Linked DNA regions of Homo sapiens: region 2 is linked to region 1. Evidence: promoter capture Hi-C in 16 types of primary human blood cells and fetal thymus (Javierre and others, 2016). All regions are on one chromosome and are shown on one strand. The core of a region is centred on a gene start or on the middle of the fragment in contact, and the rest is flanking DNA. Distances in the headings are between cores, read along the strand shown.

Region 1 (3,363 bases), core at 242-2,741:
GTCATTCAATAAAGAATGTCATTCAATAAAGAATGTCATTCAATTAATAAATAATGTATAATATTAAGCATCTACACCACGTGAAAGCACAAACCAAGCCAGGCACTGTGGTGATATAACAAATGAATCACAACTTCTGCCCTCCAGGCACTCATGTATGATGGCAAAAGGCACCACTTAGGGTGGCCAGGCAGTTGTTTGGGCAAGAGGAGGCAAGAATTTAAATTAGAAGGCAACGGTGGGAGTGTAAAGCAGGAATATTTAGCCTCAGCTGGACTGAGAGTATGTGATATCACAGAAGTGGATTCTTGACCTTTCAAGCCCGCACTACTGAGAGAAGAGCAAGGTGGATTGGCAGAGGATGCACTTAAAGTGGATTGACAAAACGTCGTATCTTCCTTATCCTGCTTCCAAATAAGCCTCTAAGAAAGGTGGCAGCATGATGTGGTGGAAAAAGCATCAGGCTAGGATCTGAGCCATCTGAGTTTCCATCAAGGCACTACCATTTGTGATATCCTCCACCCTGCCCCGAACCAATCATACAACAAAGCCTTGGCCTTCACTCATTTATCCCACAGGTAATCTCTGAACACCTTTCTTATGCAGGCACCACACTAAGCACTGGGGGTACAGATGTGTCGTGAAGAAATAATATCCCTGCTCTAATGGAGCTTGTAGCCTAATAGGGAAGTCAGACTTTACTCATAAACTGTCCATTCCAATCATGACATACAGTATAGTAGTAAGAGAATGGACTCAGACCCAGAATACGTGGGTTCAAACCCTGGCTCTGCTACTACCAGCTGTGTCACCAAAGGCAAGTTTTACTTAACCTGTGTCTTTTCTCATCTGTCAACTTGGTGTAACAACAGTTAATATTCAACAGTGATTGATATGATATATGTAAAGTAGCAGAAGAGTGGTAAGCGCTATCTGGGTGTTTGCAATGCATACCTACCGCTATTACTGATCATTCCCAGTAACGCATTCAGCCACCTGAGTCCATACTCACCGCTTGCTCATTCCTCATCCCGATGTACTTGATGCCTAGCTGCTGGGCAGCAATGGCGATTTCGGTCACTGGGATGCCTACGATGCCAAATATGTACTCCACATCCTGAGGAACGAAGAACAGGGGAGTAAACTCCCAAGGCCCCACCATATCGCCACATCCTTCCCTCCCTCCCGGGCGCTAAAAGGAAAACCCCCCGACCCCCATCGCCCATTTCTACTCGTCTCCAAGACAACATCGCGGTCCCCGCCAGCTTCCGTAGGAGCCTTTCATTCCAGGAAGGTCCATCGTACTTGCGTTTTCAGGGCCTGAGCGATGACTTTAGCACCAGACACCTGCTCCTCGCTGCGCTCTGCGAAGTTACTGTCCGGCATCTTCCACCGAAAAGCTCTAAGCACTCACGCAGCCGGCAAACAAGCGGAATCATCCAGCAAGGCAAACGCGAAATCGGCAGCACGCCACCTCTGGTACTGCACCTCTGACGGACAGGAGGGCAACCAACTGCCTTAAACAACGGGAAGGAAGAGGCGGTCTAAATTCGTCCACTTCCCGGGAGAGGTGAGAATGTAAACACGCGCGTTCTCCAATCAGAACTGCGCTCTCTTCTCGGCTCCTCCATTCGCGCGCCAGAATGCCAGAGGGAGGCGGGACTAGCAGGAGATTGCTGCCTATGCAAAGCAGGTAAGAAGCCGAACTCTGAGGCCTCTCGCCATTGTCTCCGAGTCGGCCAGCTGGAGCGTTTTCGGGGCTGTAAAGGGAGAATGGCGCATGCGCATATTCAGGGCGGAAGGCGCGCTAAGAGCAGGTACGGAGGGGGCGTGGTGCGGCGCGGAGGGGGTGTGGTAAGGGCGTGCGGTCCAGACCCCGCCCCGGGCGCCCAGTTGGACTTGGGGAGGGCTGCGCAAAGGCTGCCGGGAGCTGGGAAGCCCGGCGCGCGTCGTTTGCTGGGGCTGTTTGTGCGTTGCTGCTGTGCTACCGCGTTGCGTTTTCTAGGCATTTACTTACACGCTTTGTGGTTTACGCTCTCATAACCTTGTGGTTTTATAGTCCTTAAATTATTGTAGCGCACGTTACTTAAATCCAGAAGCAGATGTGTACCCCAGCAAGAGATAAAATGACGCTCAGAGTCAGTAGATCCAGACCGTGCCTGAGATCCTGAATCCTGTTTCCTACCCACTATTCAGCCATTGGGTCACAAGCGATGAAAAGAGCACCTTGAAGGTAGTATAGAGCACTGTTTTCTCCAGCCCTTGCTACTAATCCATATTACTCTCCGCTAATATCTTTCCAAAATTAGGAACTATGGCGTTTCATAATTCTTAGGTTGGGTCCCTACCTACAACCAGCCCTGCACCCGATAGCCTTTTAAAACATTTTTGTGTGAAAATCGTTTGCAATGTGCAATATCTGAAACTACTGCCTTGGAGTCATTAGACCCTCTGCTCAGTGACAATAAACATAAAATTTCCAATTGTAATAAACAGTGGAACTTTTAATTTTTTGAGGATTTGGAGTCATTTTAAGCAAAAAGAACAGTGATAAGTGGACAGTAAAGAGATGAGAGGGGAGTGGGTCATGGGTAGTGAAATGAGTGAGAAGCACTGGAAGTGAAACGATTTCTAAACCCAGACATTTTCAAACTGTAGTCCTGGGTCTTTTCAAAAGGTCTTCCCCTCTTTTTCTCAACCCCTCAACCCCACCCCAAGCAGAGGAGAGTGAAGTGGTTGCCTCCCTGCATATGTGGACGGTGTTAGTCCATTTTCATACTGCTATAAAGAAATACCCAAAACTGGGTAATTTATAAAGAAAAAGAGGTTTAATGGTCTCACAGTTCCAAATGGCTACGGAGGCCTCACAATCATGGCAGAAGGTGAAGGAGGAGCAAAGGCATGTCTTACATGGTGGCAGGCAAGAGAGCGTGTGCAGGGGAACTGCCCTTTATAAAACCATCAGATCTCATGAGACTTACTATCATTAGAACAGCATGGGAAAAATCCCCTCCCCATGATTCAGTTACTTCCCACTGGGTCCCTCTCACCACATGTGGGGATTATGGGAGCTATAATTCAAGATGAGATTTGGATGAGGACACAGCCAAACTGTTCTGCCCCTGGCCCCTCCCAAATATCATATCCTCACATTTCAAAACCAATCATGCCTTCCCAACAGTCCCCCAAAGTCTTAACTCATTTCAGCATTAACTCGAAAGTCCACAGTCCAGAGTTTCATCTGAGACAAGGCAAGTCCCTTCCGCCTATGAGCCTGTAAAATCAAAAGCAAGCTAGTGGCTGGGCGCAGTGGCTCACACCTGTAATCCCAGCACTTTGGGAGGCCGAGGCGGGCGGATCATG
Region 2 (3,363 bases), core at 481-2,980, 210 kb after region 1:
AAAGAGCACATGACTGAAACTAGACAATGTCTTCCTCAGGACTTCACTTTCCTGCCAAGGCTATCAGAGAAAAATACTCTCTTTTCTTTCGGGATTGTGAGGACACAATCCCAGTAAGCAAAAACTGCTCATAGGAGGAATGAAAGAATGGGGGAGGATGGGAAACCCACTGTCACCAAGTCCTGGATCTAGCTCTGCTTGCCTGGCCAGTAAATATACTTTTGCATTTAAGCCAATTTGAGTTGGATTTCTGTCATTTGTAACCAAAAGTCCTGATTAACAATTATCTACACCACCAGTTACTTTTCTAAATCATAGATAAAATGTTGTCTACTTTTATTTAGTCAACTATTTTGTTTGAGTATGCTATACTAAAGACTTCCAGCAGCCTGCCTTTAAGTTTCACATATATCAATGTGCTTGTTGCAATTCAAGTATACCATGCCACTACATGCAGCTATGCCCTTGCAGATGCTGTTTCCTCTGCCTAGCACATCCCCCTCCCACCTCCTCATCCACAAAATGTATAGGTTTGCATAAAATAAGGTGGAAAATTAGACAGCAGCGAGATCATGAAGGGTGTTGAATGACACCGAGTAAATACACTTTAACCTATAGAATTTTAAGGCAAAAAGTTATAAAATAAGACTTGTATCTTAAAGAACTTACTGTGCATACAGTGTCAGGATGACCTAAAAATAAGGTGATACTAAAGGCAGAGAAAACAGTCAGTAGGCTATCACAATTAGTTTAAACCAGAGGCCATGTAGGATGGTGAAACAGTAAACTGGGACAACTTCTCTGGGAGAAAAAAAAAAAACTTGCCAACAGCTATCAATACCATTGATAAGTATTTCAAACTTTAAGCTAGCATTTCTACTTGTAGGAACTGAGACATAAGAAAATAATGTGAGGCCTATAAAAATTTACATATCAAGATTTCAGTGAAGCATTATTTACAACAAAAGACTGAAAATTTAAATGCTGAACAATAAAATGATTTAAAATACAGTATATATCACACAGTGAAACTATATCTAATATTTAAAAATAAAATCTTTAAAGAATTTCTAAAACATGGGATATACTAAAAAATATTATATGGAATACAACACTGCAGTATAAACAAAATAATCTTAATTACGTTAAATAGAAGACTTTTTTTCTTTTTCATTTTTAGCATCAACACTACATGAGTTAGGTCAGTGGCAGGATTATGAGTAATTTGTTCTCTCCTTTTTTTTTTTTTTCCCCTAAGTAACATTGTCCTTAGCCATGATCCTTATTTGCTAAACAAAATCACAACTTTATAGGTAAGAAAAATAAGGCCTAGAGTGGTTACATGACAAAGTTCACATTCTAAGAGTTAAGACCACAACTTGAACACTGCCTATGTGAAGACTCACTGCCAAGAAGCAAACCTGCAAAGCCAGTCATTTAACCCATAACTCCTGTAAGCCTGAGACTCAAAGGCAAACCAAGCCTACTGTGAGTGACTTTAAACTTGCTGACCTACAATCCCCTATAAATTCATAACTCAAAAGCTATAAAATAGCAAATGAAGAGCAGACTACAGAACAGGGTAGTTTAAGATGCTTGTTTTTATGACTTTATTTTTTATCTAAATAACCCTACAAAGAACAGAAAAGGAAATAACAGCACACCAGACTGGAGAAACAAGGCCTCAGAGTAAGTTGTTAAGGGACACTGTTATTCTAGAGTCTGTTTTATTTTGATCTTTAAAAGAATAAGAGAATGCTTTATTAGAAGAAATTATTTCCCTGAATTAAGATCTCCATAATCTGTTACAATCACAAATAGACTCTATAGACTTAAGTACTCAACTCATTTAAGTAGGGTAGCTAACAAAAAGTCATTTGGTAGCTAAAAAAGCAGAATTTGAAAATAGTATTTGTGAAATAAAAGGGCTTCAGTGAAAGGAGTCTGAACAGCTACTGGATAGGAGAAAAGACAAAATAATTACCAGGGACAATTTTTCTTTATTTTGAGATAGAGTCTTGCTCTGTTGCCCAGGCTGGAGTGCAGTGGCACAATCTCAGGTCACTGCAACCTCTGTCTCCTGGGTTCAAGCGATTCTCCTGCCTCAGCCTCCAGAGGAGCTGGGACTGCAGGTGCACGCCACCATGCCCAGCTAATTTTTGTATTTTTGGTAGAGACGGGGTTTCACCATGTTGGCCAGGATGGTCTTGATCTCTTGACCTCGTGATCCGCCCACCTTGGCCTCCCAAAGTACTGGGATTACAGGTGTGAGCCACTGCGCCTGGCCAGGGACAATTTTTTTAAAACCTTTATTTTAACCTTATAAATTAAGAAATTGTGGTTTTCTATAGATGCCATGTAAATGATAGTACCACCTAAAAAGTTAATACATTTAAAATGTTTCTAAGCCAGGCACAGTGGCTCACGCCTGTAATCCCAGCACTTTGGGAGGTCAAGGTGGGTGGATCACTTCAGTTAGGAGTTCAAGACCAGTCTGGCCAACACAGCAAAACCCTATCTTTACTAAAAATAGAAAAATTAGCCAGGCGTGGTGGTACGCACCTGTAGTCCCAGCTACTCAGGAGGCTGAGGTCGGAGAATCGCTTGAACCCAGGAGGCTGAGGTTGCAGTGAGCTGAGATTGAGGCACTGCACTCCAGCCTGGGCAACAGAGTGAGACTCTGGCAAACAAAACAAAACAAAACAAAACGAAACCCAAAACAACAATAAAATGTTTCTAAGATGATAATCAAAGATGGCATCATAGAGCTGGGCACAGCGGTGTACACCTGTAGTCCCAGCTACTTGGGAGGCTGAGATGGGAAACTATACCATTATCTTAATTTCATTTGTTTTTTAAATGAATTTTCAAATGGTGCCCTTAGGTAAATTTAGAAAGGGTTTGCAGTAACCAATGGAAAAGCACCATCCAGTGGTAAAAGATGATAATTACAATTTATACAGTTATTAAAAGCAAAATTAGCTAAATGATTTGTGACTCTGCCTTTTCTCCAACACACATTCCAGGAAAGAAAAGGTAAACTGGCTATATAATACTGAGGGTATCTGCTATTTGTTACCATTTTCTTAATCAAATTTTACTATATTAAGTTGGCATTTCGTTGTTGTTTTTCTGTCTTGCTTACCAATTATCCAAATGCTCGTTTGGGAACAGAATTAGGATAGGGGCATTGTTAAAATTCATCTAAAGCCTTTATTAAGCCACAGGCTAGAAAATGGTTTAAAAAGTGTGTGAGGGGGTGAATTTCCAATGGAACTCTAGTTACCAACAGCCATCCCACAGAACAACAAATAAGTCATTCTATGTACTTTTTTAAAAGGTGATCATGGGTAGGTAATCTAG

What was found. The method cuts DNA at HindIII sites, captures the fragments that hold promoters and counts their contacts. A CHiCAGO score of 5 or more calls a contact.
Region 2: a fragment that was not itself captured here is called in contact with the fragment with the promoter of HACL1 in region 1 in 1 of 17 cell types (monocytes); the score reaches 6.1 in monocytes.

What each region holds. Positions count from the first base shown.
Region 1 is chr3:15,600,078-15,603,440 of GRCh38, forward strand. It overlaps HACL1 (2-hydroxyacyl-CoA lyase 1), which reads right to left and starts at 1,492. Exons shown (of 17, transcript NM_012260.4): 1 at 1,306-1,492; 2 at 1,013-1,117. The coding sequence starts at 1,386. It overlaps BTD (biotinidase), which reads left to right and starts at 1,668. Exons shown (of 4, transcript NM_001370658.1): 1 at 1,668-1,817. RefSeq lists an enhancer at 1,397-2,039 and a silencer at 1,881-1,940. The HindIII fragment of the contact is 4,903 bases long and covers 1-3,363 here.
Region 2 is chr3:15,809,466-15,812,828 of GRCh38, forward strand. It overlaps a transcript of ANKRD28 not described here. Among named protein-coding and RNA genes, the nearest start is that of ANKRD28, 13 kb to the left of the region's middle. The HindIII fragment of the contact is 4,948 bases long and covers 1-3,363 here.